Regions from separate parts of the Homo sapiens genome. Here region 1 is linked to region 2. Evidence: promoter capture Hi-C in human tissues and cell types (Jung and others, 2019). All regions are on one chromosome and are shown on one strand. The core of a region is centred on a gene start or on the middle of the fragment in contact, and the rest is flanking DNA. Distances in the headings are between cores, read along the strand shown.

Region 1 (5,251 bases), core at 2,271-4,770, 560 kb after region 2:
CTAAATTACCCCAATATCCTCTAAAACCTGAAGCAATTCAAGGGCTGTCACCAATTGTAGAGGATTTCATTAAACAAGGACTCATAATCCCGTGCACCAGCCCTTGTAACAGTCCAGTACTACCAGTTAAAAAACCAAATGGACAAGGCTGGAGATTTGTTTAAGATTTACGGGCATTTAATAAAATTGTAATACCAAGATTCCTGTAGTTCCAAATCCTGATACTTTATTATCTAATGTACCAATTAGTTCCAAGTGGTCCACAGTAATAGATCTCTGCTTAGCCTTCTTTAGCATTCCAGTTCATAAAGAAAGTTTGGTGGCTCACGCCTGTAATCCCAGCACTTTGGAAGGCCGAGGCAGGTGAATCACCTGAGGCCAGGAGCTCAAGACAGCCTGACCAACATGGTGAAACCCCCATCTCTACTAAAAATACAAAAAGTAGTCAGGCATGGTGGCGGGCACCTGTAAGTAATCCCAGCTACTCAGGAGGCTGAGACAGGAGAATCGCTTGAACCCAGGAGGCAGAGGTTGCAATGAGCCAAGACCATGCCATTGCATTCCAGCCTGGGCGACAGCAGCGAAACTCTGTCTCCAAAGAAAAAAAAAAGTCAATACTTGTTTGCCTTTACTTGGAAAAATAGGCAATACACCTGGGCTGTAAAGCCACTAGGGTTTACCAAAGCCACTTCATATTTTTCCCAGGCATTGCATCAGGACTTAATAACACTACAATTTCCTCAAAATTGTACTCTCATTCAGTATGTAGATGACTTATTGTTCTCCCACTAAGGAGTGCTCTGAAATTGACTCAGTTTACCTTTTACAACAACTTGCATATAAAGATCACAAGGCTTAAATGGAAAAACTTCAGTTTTCAAAAGAAAAATTCCACTATTTGGGACATGACTTGACTGCCAAAGGGATTTCCTCTCACCTGGGAGGATAAAAACTGTTCAAAGTTTTCCTTGACCTGAAACCAAAAGACAATTAAGAGGATTTCTTGGACTTACAGGATATTGCAGATCCTGGGTTCCAAATTTTTCCTTAATAGGTTCGCCATTGTATGAACTCACTAAAAATGCTGTACCAGAGCCTTTACCTTGGGAAGATAGTCATGAGCAGGCTTTTAGCCAAATGAAGTTGGCCTTACAACAGCCCCCAGCTTTAGGACTTCCAAATTACCCTAAGCCTTTCACCTTGTTTGTTCATGAGTGTGACAATCAGGCATTAGGAGTCCTTACACAAGAACGTGGTGCTAAACATAGGTCCATTGCATACGATAGCCTGCAATTAGGCCCAGACTCTAAGGCATATTCTAACTGTTTAAAAGCAGTAGCAGCAGCTGCCAAGCTGGTAGAAGCTTCATCAGATCTGGTTTTAGGAAGCGAACTTAATTTGCAAACCTCACATGCTGTGGAAAGTCTGTTAAATTCCAACCAAACCCAGCATTTTTCAGTAAGTAAACTAACATTTTATGAATTACTGCTATCTCCTAATCTTCATTTAAAATGCTGTAATCTACTTAACCCTGCTACTCTGTTACCTTTGCCTGACGATGGTGAAGAACACAACTGTGTAAATGTAGTGCCAGAAATAGTGGCCCCTCATGTTGATTTACAAGATACTCCAGTGGATAATCCTGGATTTATACTTTTTGTTGATAGGTCCTATCCTAAAATCTCAGAAGGAAAATACCAGGCAGAATATGCTGTTACCATCCAAAATGAGTGAATAGAGAAGGAAACGCTTCCTCAATTTAAGTCAGCCCGAACTGCAGAGCTTTTTGTCCTTACCCAAGTTTGTCATATAGCTGAGGACAAGTCAGTAAATATTTATACAGCTAGTAGATATGCTTTCGGAGTAGTACATGATTTTGGCGTGATATGGAAACTATGAGGGTTTCTCACCTCTAGTGGGACCTCCATCAAAAATAGACCCCAAGTAAATGAGCCCCTTTCTGCTATCCTGTTACCATTGTAGACTGTTGTTACTAAGATTGAAGCTCATACTTGTAGAACTGAACCCAAATATCAGGGAAATGCTTTAGCAAATTTTTATGCTAAATCAGCTAGTGCTGAAACTGTTAAGAAATGCAATCTGAATGAACTCCATTGGATTAAGCCGAGCCCACTTCCTTATGATGACCTGCTTAGTAAACAGTGCAGTGCACCTGATTTGGAAAAGCAAAATTGGTATCTAAAAGGATGTAAATTTAATGTGATGCACAGACTCACGGAGGGCCCAGACGGCCGCCTGGTCCTTCCTGAGTCTTTGAAGCTTCCATTGTTGAAAACGCTGCACTCCACCGCTCATCATGGAACAGACAAAATGATCCAAATTATGAAAAAATACTGGTCGGGTGACTGTTCCAAAATTGCTAAAATGGTTTATAATCAATGTTTGACTTGTCAAACTCATAATCCTGGAAAAACAATCAAAACTTCAGGTCATATATTTCCACCACCTGATGAACAATTTGAGCATTTACAGATGGACTTAATTTAGTTGTGACGCGCAATGGGGTATCAGTATGTTCTTGTAATAGTTTGCATGTTTTTGGCCGGGCGTGGTGGCTCACGTCTGTAATCCCAGCCCTTCGGGAGGCCGAGGTGGGTGGATCACAAGGTCAGGAGATCGAGACCATCTTGGCTAACATGGTGAAACCCCCTCTCTACTAAAAAATACAAAAAAATTAGCCGGGCGTGGTGGCAGGCACCTGTAGTACCAGCTACTCGGGAGACTGAGGCAGGAGAATGGTGTGAACCCGGGAGGCAGAGCTTGCAGTGAGCCGAGATCGCGCCACTGCACTCCAGCCTGGGCAACAGAGCAAGACTCCGTCTCAAAAAAACAAAAAGGGGCCCCTTCAGAGTCCTGGAACTGTACACCTGTTGGAGACTTTAAAGTAAAGCTGACCAAGGAAATCTCTCTTCAGAAGCAGACAGCATCCTAGTTTTGGACAGCTTTCCCAAGATCATGGACCAAGACTTCTCTATCATCAGGAAAGCCTTATGTGTTTTTCTGTTTTCCTCATCTTCTGCCCTAATCTTGTCCTTTTCCCTACAGGCAAACCCATGGCACCATAATCAGTGGATGGCTTTAGCTCAAGTTTATGCTCTAGCACAAAACCAGAGTAATTGTTGGGTTTGTGGGCTAATGCCAAAAAAAAATCAGGAAATGATTCCACTGGTGCCAGTGCCCCTCCGCGTTCCCAGCGAGAGCTACCTGAAACTAAGGGAAGAACAGAAAGTTATTCTTGATATGCTAAACATCACTGCTACTTGCTTCCTACACTCACTAAAAACAACACTCTAACTTTTTCAATTGATAAGTCGATCATTACCAAATATAAAAAAACAATCCAAGGCTGGGTGCAGTGGCTCATGTCTGTAATCCCAGCACTTTGGGAGGCTGAGGCAGGTGGATCAACTGAGGTCAGGAGTTTGAGACCAGCCTGGCCAACATGGTAAAACCCCATCTCTACTAAAAATACAAAAATTAGCCAGGCATGGTGGTAGGCGCCTATAATCCCAGCTACTGGGGAGGCTGAGGTAGGAGAATCACTTGAACCTGGGAGGCAGAGGTTGCAGTGAGCCAAGATCGTGCCATTACACTCCACTCCAGCCTGGGCAACAAGAGCGAAACTTCGTCTCAAAAAAAAAAATCCAAGTGATGCCAGCAAAAGATACATTGTGCTTCCAGACATCACGCACTCAAGATTTGGGAATTACTTATGTTGATACAAGTGATTGCTTGTATAATGTAACTGGATTAAATCCAGTAGGGTCTCTTTTTTACTAGATATGGTTATATACCCTTACAACATGCTATAAAGGGGCCACAGAAAAGTAAATTTCCCACTGGACGTTGTTCAGGAGGTATGCAGATTTGTGGTCGAACAAACCTGACTGATCTCTGCTCAAATGCAACTAGGTGGCCCTCTTTTCCAATCCCCAAGGGTCTATACTGGGTCTGTGAAGAGTCTGCGTATCCTGTTCTGCCTCCTCATTGGTTGGGTTCTTGTTATGTGGCCTGGCTTGCTCCTGCCTTTCAAATAGCTTCCCCTGAAAATTCTCATGATGGCCCTTATGATTGGAGGCCAAAATGATCAATAACTGAAATTAGCACTAGCCTTGAAATATTTGAGGATAAGCTCGTTTCTACTGAGGAAAGATTCCAGTGGGATTCCTGGGGGTGCACTCTTGGTGGTAGTGAGATAGCAGTTGTATGGAATTTAAAGCTAATTTGTAAATTGGGAAAAATCTTGGATTTTGTAATCAATCAGACCTCCCAGGGTTTCAGATGGGTAGAAGCTGCTCTCAGAAAGATAGATGACAGGGCTGGGCATGGTGGCTCACGCCTGTAATCCCGGCATTTGGGAGGCCAAGGCGGGCAGATCTCTTGAGGTCAGAAGTTTGAGACCAGCCTGGCCAACATGGTGAAACCCCATCTCTACTAAAAATACAAAAATTAGCCAGGCATGGTGGCTCATGCCTGTAATCCCAGCTACTTGGGAGGCTGAGGCAGTAGAATCGCTTGAACCCAGGAGGCGGTGGTTGCAGTGAGCCAAGATAATGCCATTGCACTCCAGCCTGGGCAACAGAGTGAGACTCCATCTCAAAAAAAAAAAAGATAGATGACAACACGTGAATTCAGCAAAAACACTTACTGGAACATCGTGCAACCTCAGATCTTTTTGCTCAAGCTGGAAGCCTAGGTTTGGTGTTAAACAAAACTGAATGTTGTACTACTTATCTCTTACCTGATTTTGTTATTACAGGAAGCTTAATTTAAAAGGTGCTGATACTGCTGTTTCCTTAGACACTGCCACCAAATACATTAAAGACATCTCTCAAGAGAAAGGAGCCCATGACATGTTTACAATAGGCAACTAACGGTTTGCAGGCATCCTAAGGGTGGATGGCAAGCTTGGGTTTTCCAAGGGCTTCTAATCCTTATAATTCTTCTAGTAGGTTTCCAAGTTATTATGACTTGTATTACCAATGTAACAATGAAAATGAGTAACTGTTTAAGTCAGGCCACTTTACAGCAAACCATGGTCCTTAATCGCTATCATACTCTAAACGAGGATAATGACCAATTGGACCCTAACACTGTTGAACTGCCTATATTGTCTGAACCTTCACTTGGCTAATTTGGTTCGGTTCATTTCATAAGAACTCTCATTAAGGAGTACGCCTTGGCATTTTGATAGTATCCTCTTGATAGTCATAATAATCGTCACCCTGAT
Region 2 (5,255 bases), core at 2,733-5,232:
CTTTTCTTTTTTCTTCTTTTTGAGACAGAGTCTAGCTCTAGTCTCAGGCTAGAGTGCAGTGGCGCAATTTCGGCTCACTGCAACCTCCGCCTCCCGGGTTCGCACCATTCTCCTGCCTCAGCCTCCCAAGTAGCTGGGACTACAGGCGCGCACCACCACGCCTGGCTAATATTTTTTTAAAATTTTAGTAGAGACGGGGTTTCACCGTGTTAGCCAGGATGGTCTTAATCTCCTGACCTCATGATCTACCTGCCTCGGCCTCCCATAGTGCTGGGATTATAGGCGTGAGCCACCGTGCCCGGCCCCGAGATGATTTTGAAGCACTCCTGGCACCTGCCTGGCATAGGCTCAGCCGCCGGGATCCACCATGTTTCCATGGATTCCACCGCGGATTCCATCCACCATGTTTCTTTCACTCACAAACAGTGTTAGGCCATGGAGTGGAGAGGGTGCTCCGGGGAATGAGGATCTGCATTCCGGCCCTCAGGAGCCCGAGCCCACAACGGCCCCAGGCCACAACTGCCAGGTGGGGGTCACTTCAGCAGCTCATTCCTGGGAATGCCTGTGCCCAGATGGCTTCAGGCCTGGAGCAATTTCCACCTGCCTCTGTGCATCGGTGTCAGGCAGATGGGGGCAGCCACCTGCTTCTCAGGAAGGACCACCCTTACCCTGGGAGGGCATCTCTTCTACTTTGACAGAGGATAGAAAACATTCTGTCTTCATGAAATCACGGGGATATTCAGTGGTAGTTTTCTTTTTCAGGTTCTTATTGAAAAAATAAAATCTTGGCAGTGTAAATTCAGCCCTTGAAAATTGTTCTGGAAATTTCCCTGGCCCATGAATCACCTGGGTCTGGCACCTGTTGGCTGTGTTCTCCCTCAGTTTTCCCATCTCCACGATGGGTAGCAGTTGTTGCTGTCTCATTTGAGATGACACGTGTGAAGCCTTTAGCACGCTGCCTGACTCCCAGGAGGCCCTCAGAGGTGACTGGGGCACTGCCTTCCTCCTGGTCAGTGGTGATGTTGGCTCTTATAGTTTGGGTTGGGATGCTGTTGCTCATGTCCTCTTTCACAGGGCTGCACGCAGAGCTCGGTGGAGGAGCCTCCTCCCCCAACGCCTCCGCTTCTTCCTCCCTGGACTTCTGCCCCGTCAGAGGGCAGCCTGCAGGCACCTCTCTCTGTCCTGGAAGCCTGGCCAGCAAGTCGGGGCCAAGGGCTGGTGGGGGCCTGCAGAGAGGGCCAGCCTGAGCCAGAGGAAGAGTCTTGGGGTTGGCTCAGGTATGTCCAGGCCATGAGGGCAGAGGAACAAGTCTACCACAGTCCCCACTGGAGCGGTGGCGGGGAGGCTGGGGAGGGCAGTGAACCTGGAGGCAGCCCCTCACTCCTGAATGTAGAGTCAACTGTGACTTTGATTTGCACCACAGTTTTCTTCAGAGTGCACTAAACATAGAGTCATACTCATTTTACGAGACCAGCATTACCCTGATACCAAAGCCAGATAACATTACAAGAAAGAAAATTATAGACCGATATCCTTGATGAACATAGATGCAACAATCCTCTCAAAATATTAGCAAACCAGCTGGGCGCGGTGGCTCACACCTGTAATCCTAACGCTTTGGGAGGACGAGGTGGGGGGATCACTTAAGGTCAGGAGTTCGAAACCAGCTTGGCCATTCATGGTCAAACCCCGTCTCTACTAAAAATACAAAAAATTAGCTGGGCACGGTGGTGCGTGCCTGTAATCCCAGCTACTTGGGAGGCTGAGGGAGGAGAATCGCTTGAACCGGGAAGGCGGAGGTTGCAGTGAGCCGAGATCGTGCCACCGCACTCCAGCATGGGCGACAGAGCAAGACTCCGTCTAAAAAAAAAAAAAATTAGCAAACCAAATTCAACAGCACATTAAAAAGATCATGCACCGTGATCAAGTAGATTTTATCCCTGGTGGGGTGACTTCTTTGAGGTGGCAGCCCCTCTGTTGGTGTGATCTAGAGCAGGACTGAAGGAAATTTACTCAGGGAAATTTACAAGGCTTCTGTGAAACTGACATGGCAGGGCTTCCAGCCTCCTGTTCCAAGATGGGAAAACTAAGTCTCAGCAAAGGGAGAGGTGATAAGACCAGCCCGAGATCGTACAGGACCCTGTCTTGGCCTCCTTGTCCGGAGCCTGGCCTCTCCAGAGCTGTGACTACTAGTCCCTGGGGGGAGACAGCCTTTCCACCTCTCCCAGACCGGAGCTGGGTGCTAACAGGCCCTGCCGGATGAAAATCCTACGATACTAACAGACAGCTAACAGGCCGGGACCGGCCCCCAGCCACCACCCCTTGTCCAAAGTGCAGGTTCATTGTGCTGCCCTCTTGGCTTGTAACAGTTTTGCAACAGTTGCAACTTGTCTTTGAGTGCAGGGACAGGAGAAGTGTGGGCTACCCGGCCACTGCCCTGGAGCTGTGGTGACTGCTGCGTTTTTCTCCCATGCACTTGCACGTCCAGGACTCCTGGGAGAACTTGGGCCACACTCCTTCCTTGCCCTCTTGAGCTCATTCGTCACCCTGTTGGGTGAGCACAGCCCTAGCTCAGGCCACTGGGCAAGCCACACCATCCAAAGAGGAGGTCCTCTGCCCCAGGACCCCCACACCACCCCAGGTAAGCCTCAAACTGGCGGGGCCAGCTTTCCACTGGGCAGCCAGGGGCCTAAGCCAGTGGGCCCTTTGCCTTTGAGGCAGGGACTGAGAATGGTGTCAGCACGTGGTCAGGCCCAGAGCCCAGGCCCCCTCCTCTAAGAGGTCCTCCTGGATTCCCTGCTGGAAGGAAGCCAGCCTTGTGGTGTCGTGTCTCTCCCTGGATCTGTCTGCTTCGTGGACCCTGAGCCCCTCGAGGGCAGGGGCTGGGTCTTAGATGTCACTATAGGTTTCCCAGCAGTGCTTTGTACACATTGGGCATTCAGTAAATGTAGAGGATAGACAAGCTGGCAACAAGACAGTCGGACATCCTCGGTGTGAATAAGAACACAATGATTTGATTGGTATTAATTACAGCAGTTTACTATACGATCGCTTCCGGTATTGGCAGCTGGCATCATTACAATATTAACAGACTGCCATTGAAATGCCCCGTCTTTGATCCAGCGCGAGGAGGAGATGTGACTTTCCATCAGCACCTGTTCTGATTCTTTGGGCATCCAGAGGTGTATTCTTTCTGGGTTTCCTCCACACCCCTCCTCTGGGTGTCTACTTCTGTCTGGGAAGGGGTAACTTGCCCCAGCCCAGAGTCAGGCTGCAGCATCCGGTCTGCCTCCTCCACCAGCTTGCTGTGTGGCCCCCTCCCTGGGCACTGCTGTCCCCAACAGTCAATGGAGGCTGGAATCCCTGCCCTGGGGGCTACGTGCTGTGCAGTAGCCAGTGGCTTGGGGGCATCTCCCCAAACACCAGAGGGGTCTGGGAGCTCGGGAAAGCAGGACGCAGACAGACCAGGAGACCCTGTCCCTGGGAAGCTGACCCAGGCCTTCTCACTCGCCTCTGAAGGCAGTGAGCATCCTGTCCCTGGGGGTGAGCAAACTGGGGCATGTGCTGAGATGACCTCACCAAAGGAGCCTCCCTGCAGTGGACGGGCCCCTGGCCCAAGCTGCTGCTGACCCCACCTTTCCTGCCCACCCTGCCTGTGCATAGCTCCTTCTGGGCGCGGGGAGCTCGGGCGGCTCCAGCAGGCAGGTGGTGCCTGGGTCTACTGCAGCAACCCTGAGGCGCCTGTTTCAGAGACGAGGAAATGAGGGTTGGAGCGGAAGGGTGACTGCCAGGTCGCCTACGGGTAATGGGGCATGGGGTTCACAACCCTGCTCTGCCGCCCTCAGAGGGAGCTGCCCACAGGGCTGGCCTAGAAGCCCCAACTAAGCTGGCCTAGAAGCCGCAGTGGTGGGCGGTACGCTCCGCCCAGATCCTGGGCGGAGACATGGGGCTGGCAGCGAGGGTGGGGGGCGGGGGAGGCCTGGAGTTCCGGCCAGGCCACTGCTTGGGAAGCAAGAAGGTGAAGGCACCTCTGCTGGGCCAAGCACTCTTAGGGCCGAGGGGCACTGCAGCTGACAAGAGGTACTTGGAGGTACACCCCCAGGGAGGGACGAGGCTGGGGCCTCCCCTATGTGGGCGGGGCTGGGCCTGGTCAGATCTGGCTGGGATCTCCCTCTGCCTCTGGCTGCAGGGACCATCCAGCTGCATGAGCAGGACCAGGGTTCACCATATGGGCAGCTGCCTCCCCGCCCCCTGCCGCTCCTCCCCACAAGTCTGCCTACCCTCACCAGGCGAAGGTGCCAGGCGCTCTCCTCGCTTGACCCCCACCACCCCCTGAGCCTGGGAGGAGGAGGGCGTTCCTGGGTCCTCTGCTTTGCAGTGAGGTTAAGTTGTTGCTCGAGGCCCCAGTCCTGTGACAAAACCCCCACCCATCTGTCTGATCCCAAGCCCAGGGCTGTCCTCAGCCCTCACTCCTGGGAAGCTGACTCAGGTACGAGACAGAGTTGGAGGGGGCAAGAGAGTGGGTTAATGTGGAGGCAGCTGTTTCCAGGGAGGTGGCAGGCAGGAGGGGCTCTGGGCTGTCCCCGCTGGGGCCGCTGCCAGCCCCCAGTCTGACAGTCAGAAGAGCCCTGACTGACCAGGCAGGTGGTGAAGGGGCACGTGGCAGCCTCCGGCGCCAGCAGCTGTCGCTTTTTGGGCACAGTCGGAAGGAGGAGGGAGGCTTTTGCCCACAGCTGACCAGGTGTGCTGTGCCATGCGGCACCGTGGTGGGTGGTGGGTGGTGGGGTGGGGGTGTTCAGCCTTGGAGGGCCTTCCTCGGTGCCACTCAAGCTGGCTTTCCCCTGGTGGGGCACCACTTTTGGGGGCTCCTGGAAGACTGTGGACCTTCAAGGACTGAAGGTATGTACAGACACATGCAGGAGGCATGCCTCCTTGTCCGGGGCCACCTCTGCAGGCAGGAGCCAGGCGGGCTGACACACTGAGGGCTGAGAGGCTGAGGACAAGCTCCAACACCTCCTCACTCCCCTACGCCGCTGCAATCAGACTCCCTGCTCCCTCCCTTGGGATGGGGCACTGGGGCAGGAGATGGGGGGCAGCCCTGACCAGCCTGAGAGCTGGGATCCCCCTCACATCCCCCACTGTGCCTAGGACAGGGTTCTGGGCTTCGTCAGGGCTTGGGCAGTGCCCACAGTTCAGGTGGGACAGAGTGTGGCAGTGGGTCCTGAGTCCCCCTGGGATGGTCAGAAGAGGGGGCA

What was found. The method cuts DNA at HindIII sites, captures the fragments that hold promoters and counts their contacts. A contact is called where the count stands out against the background at its distance.
Region 1: a fragment that was not itself captured here is called in contact with the fragment with the promoter of SARDH in region 2 in 2 of the 25 tissues and cell types used here (bladder and mesenchymal stem cells).

The regions. Positions count from the first base shown.
Region 1 is chr9:133,174,244-133,179,494 of GRCh38, reverse strand. No RefSeq gene overlaps it. Among named protein-coding and RNA genes, the nearest start is that of GBGT1, 13 kb to the right of the region's middle. The HindIII fragment of the contact is 3,395 bases long and covers 1,823-5,217 here.
Region 2 is chr9:133,737,079-133,742,333 of GRCh38, reverse strand. SARDH (sarcosine dehydrogenase) reads left to right here and starts at 3,982. Exons shown (of 21, transcript NM_001134707.2): 1 at 3,982-4,080. The HindIII fragment of the contact is 19,009 bases long and covers 1-5,255 here.